Linked DNA regions of Homo sapiens: region 1 is linked to region 2. Evidence: promoter capture Hi-C in 16 types of primary human blood cells and fetal thymus (Javierre and others, 2016). All regions are on one chromosome and are shown on one strand. The core of a region is centred on a gene start or on the middle of the fragment in contact, and the rest is flanking DNA. Distances in the headings are between cores, read along the strand shown. Region 1 overlaps CLDN12 (claudin 12). Region 2 holds the start of TP53TG1 (TP53 target 1).

Region 1 (5,494 bases), core at 1,470-3,969, 3.1 Mb after region 2:
TAAGGGGCCCATAGCCACGTTAGGGAAAGGTCAGACTTGGTGACCTCACTTAAAATGATTGCTCAAGGATTCTATTGTGCGTTATTAATTGTAAAACGATTTCCTCTGACTTTGGAGTGTGCAATTATGATTGATACCAACCCAAGAAACACATTTGGGGCGGGGGAGGGGTTGGGGGGGACTTGACTGAAATCTCCGAGCAGCCAGTTGCAGAGAGCATTCTACATAATGATCGTAATAGGGCTAGTGATGAACGCCTCAATCCAGGAAACTCTCAGGCGCACATAATAATGAGTTTCCATTCTCATCCTACCTGTTTGAGATAAATGGTATTTGAAGAGGAAGTGGCTAATGTTTAAAGTAGATATATAGAAGCATCTTTAAGTATCAGGTTGAGCCATTGGTGGAACTATTTTTTTTTTAAGCATTCTGGTTGCAAATTTCAGGATGCAGAATTCAGATCAACTTTGTCTGGTCTTGTTGTCAGTGTCCTTTTTTAAAAATGTAAAAGAAAATTTCTTTTACTTCCAAGACAACTGCACAGTCTTTCACCACCTTCCTTATCCTTTCACCGTAGTCATGAAAATGATCTAAAACATTCATTAAATATCAATCATATATTCCCAAGACAGCAAAGTGTTTTTCATCCTCATTTCTCCTATATTCTCAAGTCACAAGATGAGTTAATTTTTTTCTTCTATTTCTACGTATTTTTCTATATTCTATATATTTCTCATATATAATGCATGAATTAAGGAATAAACAGCCTTTTTATTTTTTTTTTTTTATTATTTGAGACAGATCATTGCTATGTCATCCAGGCTGGAGTGCAGTGGCATGATCATGACTCACTGTGTCCTCAAACTCCTGGGCTCAAGTGATCCTTCCATGTCAGCCTCCCAAGAAACTGGGACAACACGTGTGCACCATCACACCTGGCTAATTATTATTATTATTATTTTTTGAGCCAGAATCTCTCTCTGTCACCAACACTGGAGTGCAGTGGTGCAATCTCAGCTCACGGTAACCTCCACCTCCCAGGTTCAAGCGGTTCTTGTGCCTTAACCTCCCACATGGCTGGGACTATAGGCATGAGCCACCATGCCCAGCTAATTTTTGTATTTTTAGGAGAGATGGGGTTTTGCCATGTTGGCCAGGCTGGTCTTGAACTCGGGCTCAAGTGATCATCCCGCCTCAGCTTCCCAAAGTGTTGGGATTACAGGTGTAAGCCACTGTGCCCCTGCTAAACTGCCTTTTTAAAAAACTTACTGTCTGCCCTTTTTAGTATAACATTTCATTGGTTTTAGGTGATTACTAATCATTTCTTCTAATCCATGGGAATTCAAGCAGGGTTTTTAGAGAAGTACTATGTTAATTTGGAGTATTTTTCCTATTTCTTTAGGCTCAGATTATTGCTACTCTGTATTCAGATCTTCATGTGTCTCTTCTAAGCTGAATAAAGCTGTTTTGGAACTGTCAGGTACCTCAAAGCGTAAGTACGTCCTTTAATTATATCTTATTTCCCTCCCTCCTGCTACCACATCTGCCAACAATGACTCTTTTTTTTTCTCTTGTTCAACAAAATAGAGGTATAGGACAGACCTCTCTTGTGAGTACAATGACTGATGACTTACAGTTTCTAAGAAAACCCAAATTATAGGTAGAAGGAACTCTCAATGTTACCATCAAGAATTAAGTTAGGGCTGGGCATGGTGGCTCAGCCCTGTAACCCTAGCGCTTTGAGAGGCTGAGGTGGAAGGATCCCTTGAGCCCAGGAGTTTGAGACCATCCTGGGCAACATAGCGAGATCCTGACTGTATGAGAAAATTTTAAAAAATTAGCCAGTTGTGGTGGTACATGCCTATAGTCCCAGCTACTCTGGAAGCTGAGGTGGGAGGATTGCTTGAGCCTCGGAGGTCGAGGCTGCAGTGAGCCATGATTGCACCACTGTGCTCCAGCCTGGGTGAGAAAGCGAGACCCTGTCTCAAAAAAATAGAAGCTAGCTGCTATTAGACATATGTACTCTCGTAACTCTTGTAACTATAACTCAGAATTGTGCCTGGAAAAAATAGTACAGGGTCTATTGGATACATGACTTCCTAAAGCTCTTAGCCACTGTTCCTGCTCCAGCCTTCTTTAAATTCTATTCAAAACCACAGAAAATATATAATTTGAAAATATTTTTATTCGTAATTATGTCTCTGATAACATTTAATTGTGTATCAAATTTTATCTACTTTTCTGAGTCACGGTGGAACAGAGAGTCAAATGACAAATGTGAAGTGGTTATTTGAAATAGAGTCTCTATTTGATTTGGTCAGTATCTCCAAAGAGAATGTTCTGTCCTTCTTGTTATATGACTATAACCATCTGTAGTCATTTGCTGAGGGTCCAGAAGAAAAGTATGTTTCTAGCTGAAAAAAGTAAATAAGCCTGCTAATAATCATTACTGACTTACATTTCTGACCATATTCTGGTTTACAAAGGACTTTGCTATTCATGATTTTACTACTTTGTGGGACACTTTACAGATGAAAAATTGGAGGTTCAGAGGACATAAGTGACTTGTCCAGTTTGTAAATGATAGGTTATGAATGTTATTCAGGTCTTTGGTCTCCTGGACAACAATACCAAGCAGCCTCCTGGATGGAAACAACAAACCACTTATGTGTATGTATGACCTAGCTCAAAGCTCTCATCCAGCTAGTACTCATGACTGCTTGACAGATTTGTTAAAGTGTTCTTAGCCTTGCACGTTTTCCACAGTCCCTAATTAGGGATTTTCACATGGCAAAAAGATGTTTTTTTTTCTCCATTAAAAAAACTATATATTGTTTAGCTTTAATAAATATTAATTTGATATATTAACCACTCTTAAGAGAAGTATGTCTAATTCATGACATACCTGTTAAGTTGAAAACAGAAAAATCAATACCGGAACAGTGGACTTTTTGTTTTTGAAATGGAGTCTCGGGGTTTCACCATATTGGCCAGGCTAGTCTCAAACTCCTGACCTCGTGATCCACCCACCTCGGCCTCCCAAAGTGCTGGGATTACAGGCATGAGCCACCACGCCGCGCCAGGAATAATTGACTTTCAAACCATTTGTTGAAGTTAGACAGTGTTGCTAAACCTAGATATATATTTCTAGAATCATAGTCTGCATGTAGGTACCTAAGGATGGCCTTGTCTTTGCTAATCACAGGTTTCTGGGGTAAGAAAATGAATGTTGTTTTGTAAAATGGGAGTCTTTTGGCCAAAAAGGAGAAAGCAGGGGCACAGTCTAGAAACAGTCTGGATGTATCAGAACACAGGGTGGTGTGAATTCTCTCAAATGAAGTGAATGGAACTGAGACTAAATTTCTGTCTGTATTCTGACCAGAGTTATACAGAACCTCCATTTGTTTGTTCATTCATTCAGCAAATAATCGAGTGCCTTTTATGTGCCAGTATAGGGAACAGTGAACAAAACAAAGGGATCTCTGTCCCTGGAATTCACAGTCTGATGGGAAAGAAAACTACACTGAACAAGGAGTTATAAGAATGATCACTGCTACAGAAGAAAAAGTGCAAAAGTGCTACCACAGCATATAACCAGGGACAGGGGGAGGTTTAGGACAAGCCTCCCTGGACACTAGAAGAATGAGTAAATATTAGCCAAGCAAAGAATAGGTTGGAATTAAGAAAGTTCTAGGAGAAAGACCATGAGGGAAGGCCCTTAACCAAATCAGAAAGTGGAAAATTTGGGAAGTCAAAAGAAATGTGGTTTGGCTGCATAGACTGTAGTGTGTGGGGTGGGAGAGTGGCACATACGAAGGTTGAGAATTTGGTAGGAATCAGGTGGTGTAAGCTATGGGGAGGAGTTGAAACTTTAGAGATTTTATTCTGTGGGAAATGGGAACTTATTGAATGGTAAGAAATGGAATGGCGGATGAGGTTTGCATTTGAAAAAAATTATTGTGGATTAAAACTAATTGACACAGCACAAGAGTAGAGGTCTTTTTACCCTTGCAAGTATGAACAAATCCTAATCGGGAAGTCAGCATTATCTTTGTTTTAAAACATCAAACATATTCTTTCCCCAAACTATCCTATAAAATTTTACTTCAGGCATGGTGGCTTACTTTTGTAATCCCAGCCCTTTGAAAGGTGGAGGTGGGGGGATTGCTTGAGCCCAAGAGTTCAAGACCAGCCTGGGCAACACAGCAAGACCCCATCTCTAGGGAAAACTTAAAAATTAGTCTGGCATGGTGGCATGCACCTGTTATCCCAGCTACTCAGGAGGCTGAGGCAGGAGGATTACTTGAGCCCAGGATCTCAGCTCACTGAAATCTAGTGAGCTGTGATCATGCCCTGCACTCCAGCTTGGGTGATAGAGTAAGACCCTGTCTTAAAAGAAATTACTTTATCTCTCTGGTGGGATATATGACTTATCAAATCATAGGCATTTGAAATTAAGAACAGGGCATACAAGGTGAAGTAGCCAAAAGAAGCTAGACATTAATTCCAGTATCAGGCCAAAATTTAGCTTAAGAATTAAGGTTAATAGTACTTCCCTTCTGAAAAAGTGCCGTGGTATCCTTGTTGACTCTGTATAGATAGGCCTCTGTCCATCCCTGAGATCTGAGCTAAGAATGCTTCATCAAAGGCAATTTCAGAGAACCAATATAATATTTGTATTGATTTGATGCAGAATATAGTTAAAAGCACTTACTACTGAAATATATATTGTCGTACCTCTCTTCATTAATGTCATTTGATAGTCTATAGGCTAAGAATTATAGGAATTTATTTATTTTTCTTAATAATTAATTTTTCTTTTTTTTGTAGAGATGGGGTCTCGCTATGTTGCCCAATCTGGTCTCAAACTCCTGGGCTCAAGCTATCCTCCCACCGCAGCCTCCCCAAGTGCTGGAATTACAGGCATGAGCCACAGCACCTGGCCTGGAATTTATTAATAATGGAGTTATACATCCTGATCTTGTTTCTCACTCCATTTACATTTCAGGAATCAGTGTTACAGGGCAGTTTGATTGGAGAAATCTCAATTACATTGAAATTCCAATTATTTCTATACTACTTTTGTTTTTTGTTCCTGTTTGTTTGTTTGTTTGTTTGTTTTGAGACAGAGTCTCGTGCTCTGTCACCCAGACTGGAGTGCAGTGGTGTGATCTGGCTCACTGCAACCTCCACCTCCTGGGTTCAAGCGATTCTCCTGCCTCAGCCTCTTGAGTAGCAGGGATTACAGGCACGTGCCACCATGCCTGGCTAGTTTTTGTATTTTTAGTAGAGATGGGGTTTCACCATGTTGACCAGGCTGGTCTGAAACTCCTGACCTCAAGTGATCTACCAGCCTTGGCCTCCCAAAGTGCTGGGATTTCAGGCATGAGCCAATTCGCCCAGCCAGTATATTACTTCTGAAAGCAAGAAGGAATTGTGATTGCATTAGGACTTTGAGTGGGTTATCTGAAGACTTCTGAAGCTTGAAAGAAAC
Region 2 (5,541 bases), core at 1,730-4,229:
AAATTGAAACTCATATTGCTGGCAGATATGTAAAAACGGTACAGTTCCTTTGGAAATCAGTTTGACGGTTTTTGAAAATGTTAAACATAGAGTTAACATACGACCCCACAACTCCACTCCTAAAATACTAATTGAAAGCCTGTTCACACAAAGCTTGTACACAAATGTTTATAGTACCATTATTTAAATAGACAAAAGGTAGAAACAACCCAAATGTCCATGAACTGATGAATGGACAAACAAAAAGTGGTTCATACATTCATCAGTCAGTTGATGAATCATGTTTAATGCCTGTTGGTAACACAGAATTTAGAGCCACTTTGCTTCACTCTTTTCCCAGTCTTGTTATTTATTTCAATGGAAACAAAATGTTCCTGTAAAGATGCCTGGATTTTTGGATATAGAAAAAGTTGTGGGACTGAAAAAAATGAGTGGAACAGAGATTTGAGTATGTAGAAAATAATCTTTTTAAATATTTGAACCAAATGTTCTAAAATTAGCTTATGGTGACTGCATAACCCTGTGAATATAGTAAAACCATTGATTTGTGGACTTTAAATGGCCGAACTTTATGGTATGTAAATTATATTTCAACAAAGATGTTAACAAAATTTTTAAATGTTATATTTTGTTTAGTAAGAAGGTATTTTTTTCTGAGATGCAAAAACATCATAGTTATCTTAACTCTTCCCCTCAGATTTTGGTGGCAACTTTTCATGTACTGTAAATATCATCAAAAGCAACCCCAAATCAATGATTAGTACTAAAAAGAGACCTTTTGTATCAAACACTGTTCATCTGCTGTTGGCAGTGGAGTTCATTTTTAATGCTACATTGCCCTCTTTGCGTCCAGTGTACTTTAATTTGCTGTTGGCTGCTTCCCAAAATGACCATATTTCTACTGCCCCCCCATTAAAAAGAAGAAACATCACAAAATTATTTCTTCAACATGTTCATTTTATACATCAGAATGAAAGGAGGTTACAGGTCTCCCATAGATTAGGGCTATTTACCATATCTCCTTACTTATTAGAGTCACAAATCTTAGCAGGAAGCCAGTTATGCAGATTGAAACATGAACTTCTTAGTCTAGCATTTTAATACTTTTTAATGGTGAAATTTATCTAGACTTATCTATAAAGTCTTTTGCAATTTGTGGTATGCTGAGTAAGAACTACAGAAGAACAAAAATAAAAGATTTTTTTAATGGCAACTTAAAAAATTATCACCACTTGTACTACTTACAAATTTTCCTCCAAAAAGTTACTTTGACTCATAGTCAATTTTTAATCTTGGAACAACTTCTTGCTATCACAAATACTTCAAGTGCCTAAAACATCTTCCTTACCAGCCAATATCTCCCGCTCCACTCTAAGAAATGCAAACTCGTTCAAGTTTAACCTGAATGCAACATAATTTGGAATCTTTCATTAAAATATATATCACACATTTTGAAGCCAAACATATTTTAAAATACCTGTTTTTGGTGATTTGGGGTACATATGCTTATCAGTATAACATATTTTAAAAGATTTTTTTCTACATACTCAAATCTGTGTTCCATTCATTTTTTCACTCCCACACCTTTTTGTCTATCCGATAATTCAGGAATCTTTACAGAAACATCTTGTTTCCATTGAAATAAACAACAAGAGTAGGAAAAAGAGTGAAGCGAAATGGTTCTAAATTCTATGCACCAACAGGCATTAAACATGCATAAACTTTTAAAGAGATGCCAAGACTCACTAAAAAGGAGAAAAAAAATACAACGAAGGTTTCTGAGTAGTTTTTAGTTACTCAATTTAAAAACTTTATCTTGTAAGCAAACTTTAACATCATCCAGAGCATCGCACTTATATATGAAAGAAAAAGTTCTTTATCACACCTTCAGAAATTACAACTACAAATTCCTAATCCCTTATTTAAAATCTTTTTGGCTAGATATGTTTCAAAATTCAGAACTTTTCTTAGAATAGTACGTCTGCCATATATTATGAAACACTTCCAGCAAGCTGTACTGTAATCAAACACAATATTTCTGTAGAAAACTTATGAATATTTACACAAAGGGAACATTCAGTTACACATAGCCTCACTTCCCTTCAGGTCAAACTTTACTGCTAAAGGAGTTAGAAACGACAGACAAAGGAATGGGGCCTGTCATGACATGTTAATTTGAAATCTAAATCTTTATCTTTGATAACTAGTTCAGAGTCAGTGTAAACATTTGGTCTTTCCTTCCACAAAAAAATGAAACAGTGTATTTAAAATTAAAAATGAAACAGTATATTTTATTTCAGAAGGTAAAAGCAAAATGAATTAATCTGTGAAACTAAGTCAATCACATTATGATCTTCTAGAACTTGGGTAGCTCCACTCTGGTTAAAGATTCCATTTCTTGGCACAACAGTAAAAGACATCAGATAGGCCCGGGGGTAAGCATCCCTGGGGTATTCAAATAACTTGGGTAGCAATGAAGAGCTGCAGAAGAGCAAGGAGACCCGAGATGATGTAGTGTGCTGCGGCATACCTGAGTTGGGCAAACTCAGCCTCCGAAGATTAAAGGAAAGAGCCCAAGTAGGAATCTGTGTGATCACTGTTCTTTTGCCAAGACACGGGGTGGACAATAAGATTCCTTTACAAAGCACTGGTGTAAGTGTTCGCCTGGTGCTGCAAAAAGCGGCTCACTGGGAATGGGGAGGAGCGTGTGGTAAGCCAGACCTGCGGCGAGAAGTTGGGTGAAAATGGGTCTTAACCATCGCTTCCTGCATCTATCCCAGAGGGTTGGGTACCTTCGTGGGCGGAGCGCGGCCTGCCCAGAGTGCCTTCTAGATCCTGGGTCAGGCGCCAAGCTCCCCAGCATCATGCAGGAAGCTGCAGCCCCGCAGAGTTAGGACAGCTCATTTGGCACCCGGCGAGCCCTTCCCAGGCCCGCAGCCCAGAATAGAGCCGGGGCCCAAGACGCCCACTGGAGACAGGGTCGGGTCCCACTACCGCGCAGGCCCGGCTCGCCCCCGACGTCAGGCACGGGGCGGGACCCTTGCAGCTGTCCGTCCAGTCCCGTTCCCCGGAAAGTGAGGGGCGGGACCCTCGCGGCTTTCTATCCAATCCTGTTCCCCGGCGAATGCGGGGCGGGACCCTAGCGGCCTTCAGTCCAATTCCCGCACCTTTGAGGCCCAAGGGGGAGCGAGCCGGTGCTGCTGCAGGCTGAGGCTGCGGCAGAGGCGGCGAGGCGCGGGCGGTGAGGACGGACAGGTCCGTTGAAGCAGCATTCCCTCCCTCCCCTAATCCTTCAACTCGGGGGCGGGGGAAAGTTAAGTCGTGCAGAACCGCAAAGGTGCCTGGATTTGGTGGGGGAGTAGTGTCATCAAGCATCTCGCCTGCTGGGGTCTCAGGGGTACCCTCAAGGTTGGGCCGCGGGGCTGCTCCGTTGTAGTGCTTAGATTTCTCTCACTTGATGGCCTCTTGAGTGCAGAGTTGCTCTTGGGTTGGTGGGAAGAGCCTCCGAGCTCTCATTGCCCTCTGCTCCTGCTTCTACCCCTTGCCACTCTGCGACGAACCTGTTACCCAGCCACTGAAAACGTATCCTCTACCCTTTGAACCCGTCTAATGGAAGGTGTACTTGTCTGAAACCTACTTAATTGTATGATCATTTACTCCTGCTCTCTAGCAGGTGGACTATTTGCGTGTGTTTGCAGTGATTCACGAAAAGTTTGTCTTGGGAACTCCCAACTCCTAGTTTGTCTGCATTCCACCTTCTTTCACTAGCTTGTTCATTTCTTTTTCCCTCTTAAATATTTGTTAAGCTTGTTTCTTTCTTCCCACAGTCACCGACTTAGTCCAGTTCCCTGTGATCTCAAAACAATTGTTGCAGCAGGCTCCTGGCAGTCTCAAGCAGTTCATCTTCTTGGTGTACTGGTATGTGACAATTCCTTCACGTATTGTTCGTGGTTCTTTTCCACTTTCTGTGAATTCATATCTAATTGCCCCCAGAAAGTCAATTCTAATTAAATCTAGCATAATCATTTTCTTAGTGCTATTGGAACCATCTTATTTAACTTAATCTTTGTGGTTGAGAATTCAAGAAAACTCTTCAAGAAAGAATCCAATAATTTATATTTTTAATGTGTACCGGTTGGTGGGTTAAGCACTATAGTGGGTATGTAACTAATACTCTTGCTTCCAGTTTTCTAGAGTCTATTAAGTGGCACAGAGGTAAACAGAATAGCTTATCTTCTCTGTATGTGTGTACTAGTCTTCTATTGCTGCCTTAACCAATTACACAAATGCAACAATTAAAACAACACAAATGTATTATCTCATAGCTTCTGTAAATGTGAAGTTTGGGTGGGCTTAGCTGAGTACTTGGCTTAGAATTTCACAAAACCGAAACCAAGGTTTCTGTAGATTTGGATTCTTTTCTGGAGGCTCTAGGGGAGAATCCACCTCCAGGCTATTTCAGATTGTTGGTAGAATTCACACTGACATTTCTATATCCTTACTGTTTGTCAGCCTGAGCCTCTTTCAGTTCTTTAAGGCCATCTGCATCTTCAAAGACACCACAAATCCTTCTCAAGCATTAAAGCAGTCTTACTTGTCTGCCACTGGCCAGAGAAAGCTCTTTGCTCTTATGGACTCAAGTGATTAGATTAGTTCCAATTCGATAATATCCCTATTTTAAGGTCAGTTCTGTAGAGAATATCACAATCACAGGAGTAATGATCTCACCATATTCGCAGGTTCTGGGGATTAGCAGGGGTGGAATCTTGGGGGCCATTCATAGTAATTGTGCCTACCACAATATGGTGGTTTCAGGCAGGATTATTTTGTTTTTATAATGTGCTTTCACAGGCATTGAAAACAAATTCTGACTTTATTGAATTGTATGATTAACCACTCTAAGATAAGGAAATTCACTTAAAGTTGGTTGCCCTAGGGGCACATGGCTAGAAAGTGGCAGAGTCTGTACTTGGATCCAGATCTACATTTCCATTAGGTACAAACCCATTTTTATGGATGGTCAAAATGGTGTGCAGCCAAAGTCAATAGATAGAAAGAAGCTAAAGAACTTTGAGTTAATTATTATTTCTCATTTTCAAATTATCTCTTTATATTAGTGGTACAGGCTAAGCTCTTCTCCCTACAATAGAAAGCCCAAAATACAATGGTATGAATAAAATAGAAGTTTTTTTTTTTCCATACATCTAGAGGTAGGAGTCCAGGACTAGTAGGGAGATTCTGCAATCCTGCATATATGACTTCCATAAATGAGGCCATGGTGCTGTTTAGTTCGTCACTACCTAGCAGGTAGTAAAAAGGAGGGAAAGTGCAGGGAGAACACATGCATTCCTTTTTGGGAGCATGACCTGGAAGTGACACACACAAGGTCATCACAAAGCCACACTGAGCTCCAAGAGAGGGTAGGAAAGATAAAACTGGGGGCTGTATGCACAGCTACAACTCAGGATTCTGTTAAAGCAGAGGAAAACAGGTATTAGCTGAAAATAGTCTCTTCTGTGTCCATGTTTTTGATAGTGTTCG

What was found. Contacts are between HindIII fragments. The CHiCAGO score rates a contact against its expected background, and 5 or more counts as called.
Region 1: a fragment that was not itself captured here is called in contact with the fragment with the promoter of TP53TG1 in region 2 in 1 of 17 cell types (non-activated CD4 T cells); the score reaches 5.7 in non-activated CD4 T cells.

What each region holds. Positions count from the first base shown.
Region 1 is chr7:90,404,117-90,409,610 of GRCh38, forward strand. It overlaps CLDN12 (claudin 12), which reads left to right. Exons shown (of 4, transcript NM_001185072.3): 2 at 1,403-1,492. Among named protein-coding and RNA genes, the nearest start is that of CLDN12, 3.4 kb to the left of the region's middle. RefSeq lists an enhancer at 1-50. The HindIII fragment of the contact is 5,522 bases long and covers 1-5,480 here.
Region 2 is chr7:87,342,513-87,348,053 of GRCh38, forward strand. TP53TG1 (TP53 target 1) reads right to left here and starts at 2,980. Exons shown (of 3, transcript NR_015381.1): 1 at 2,531-2,980. It overlaps CROT (carnitine O-octanoyltransferase), which reads left to right and starts at 3,152. Exons shown (of 18, transcript NM_021151.4): 1 at 3,152-3,255; 2 at 3,828-3,918. RefSeq lists a silencer at 2,968-3,177. The HindIII fragment of the contact is 3,653 bases long and covers 152-3,804 here.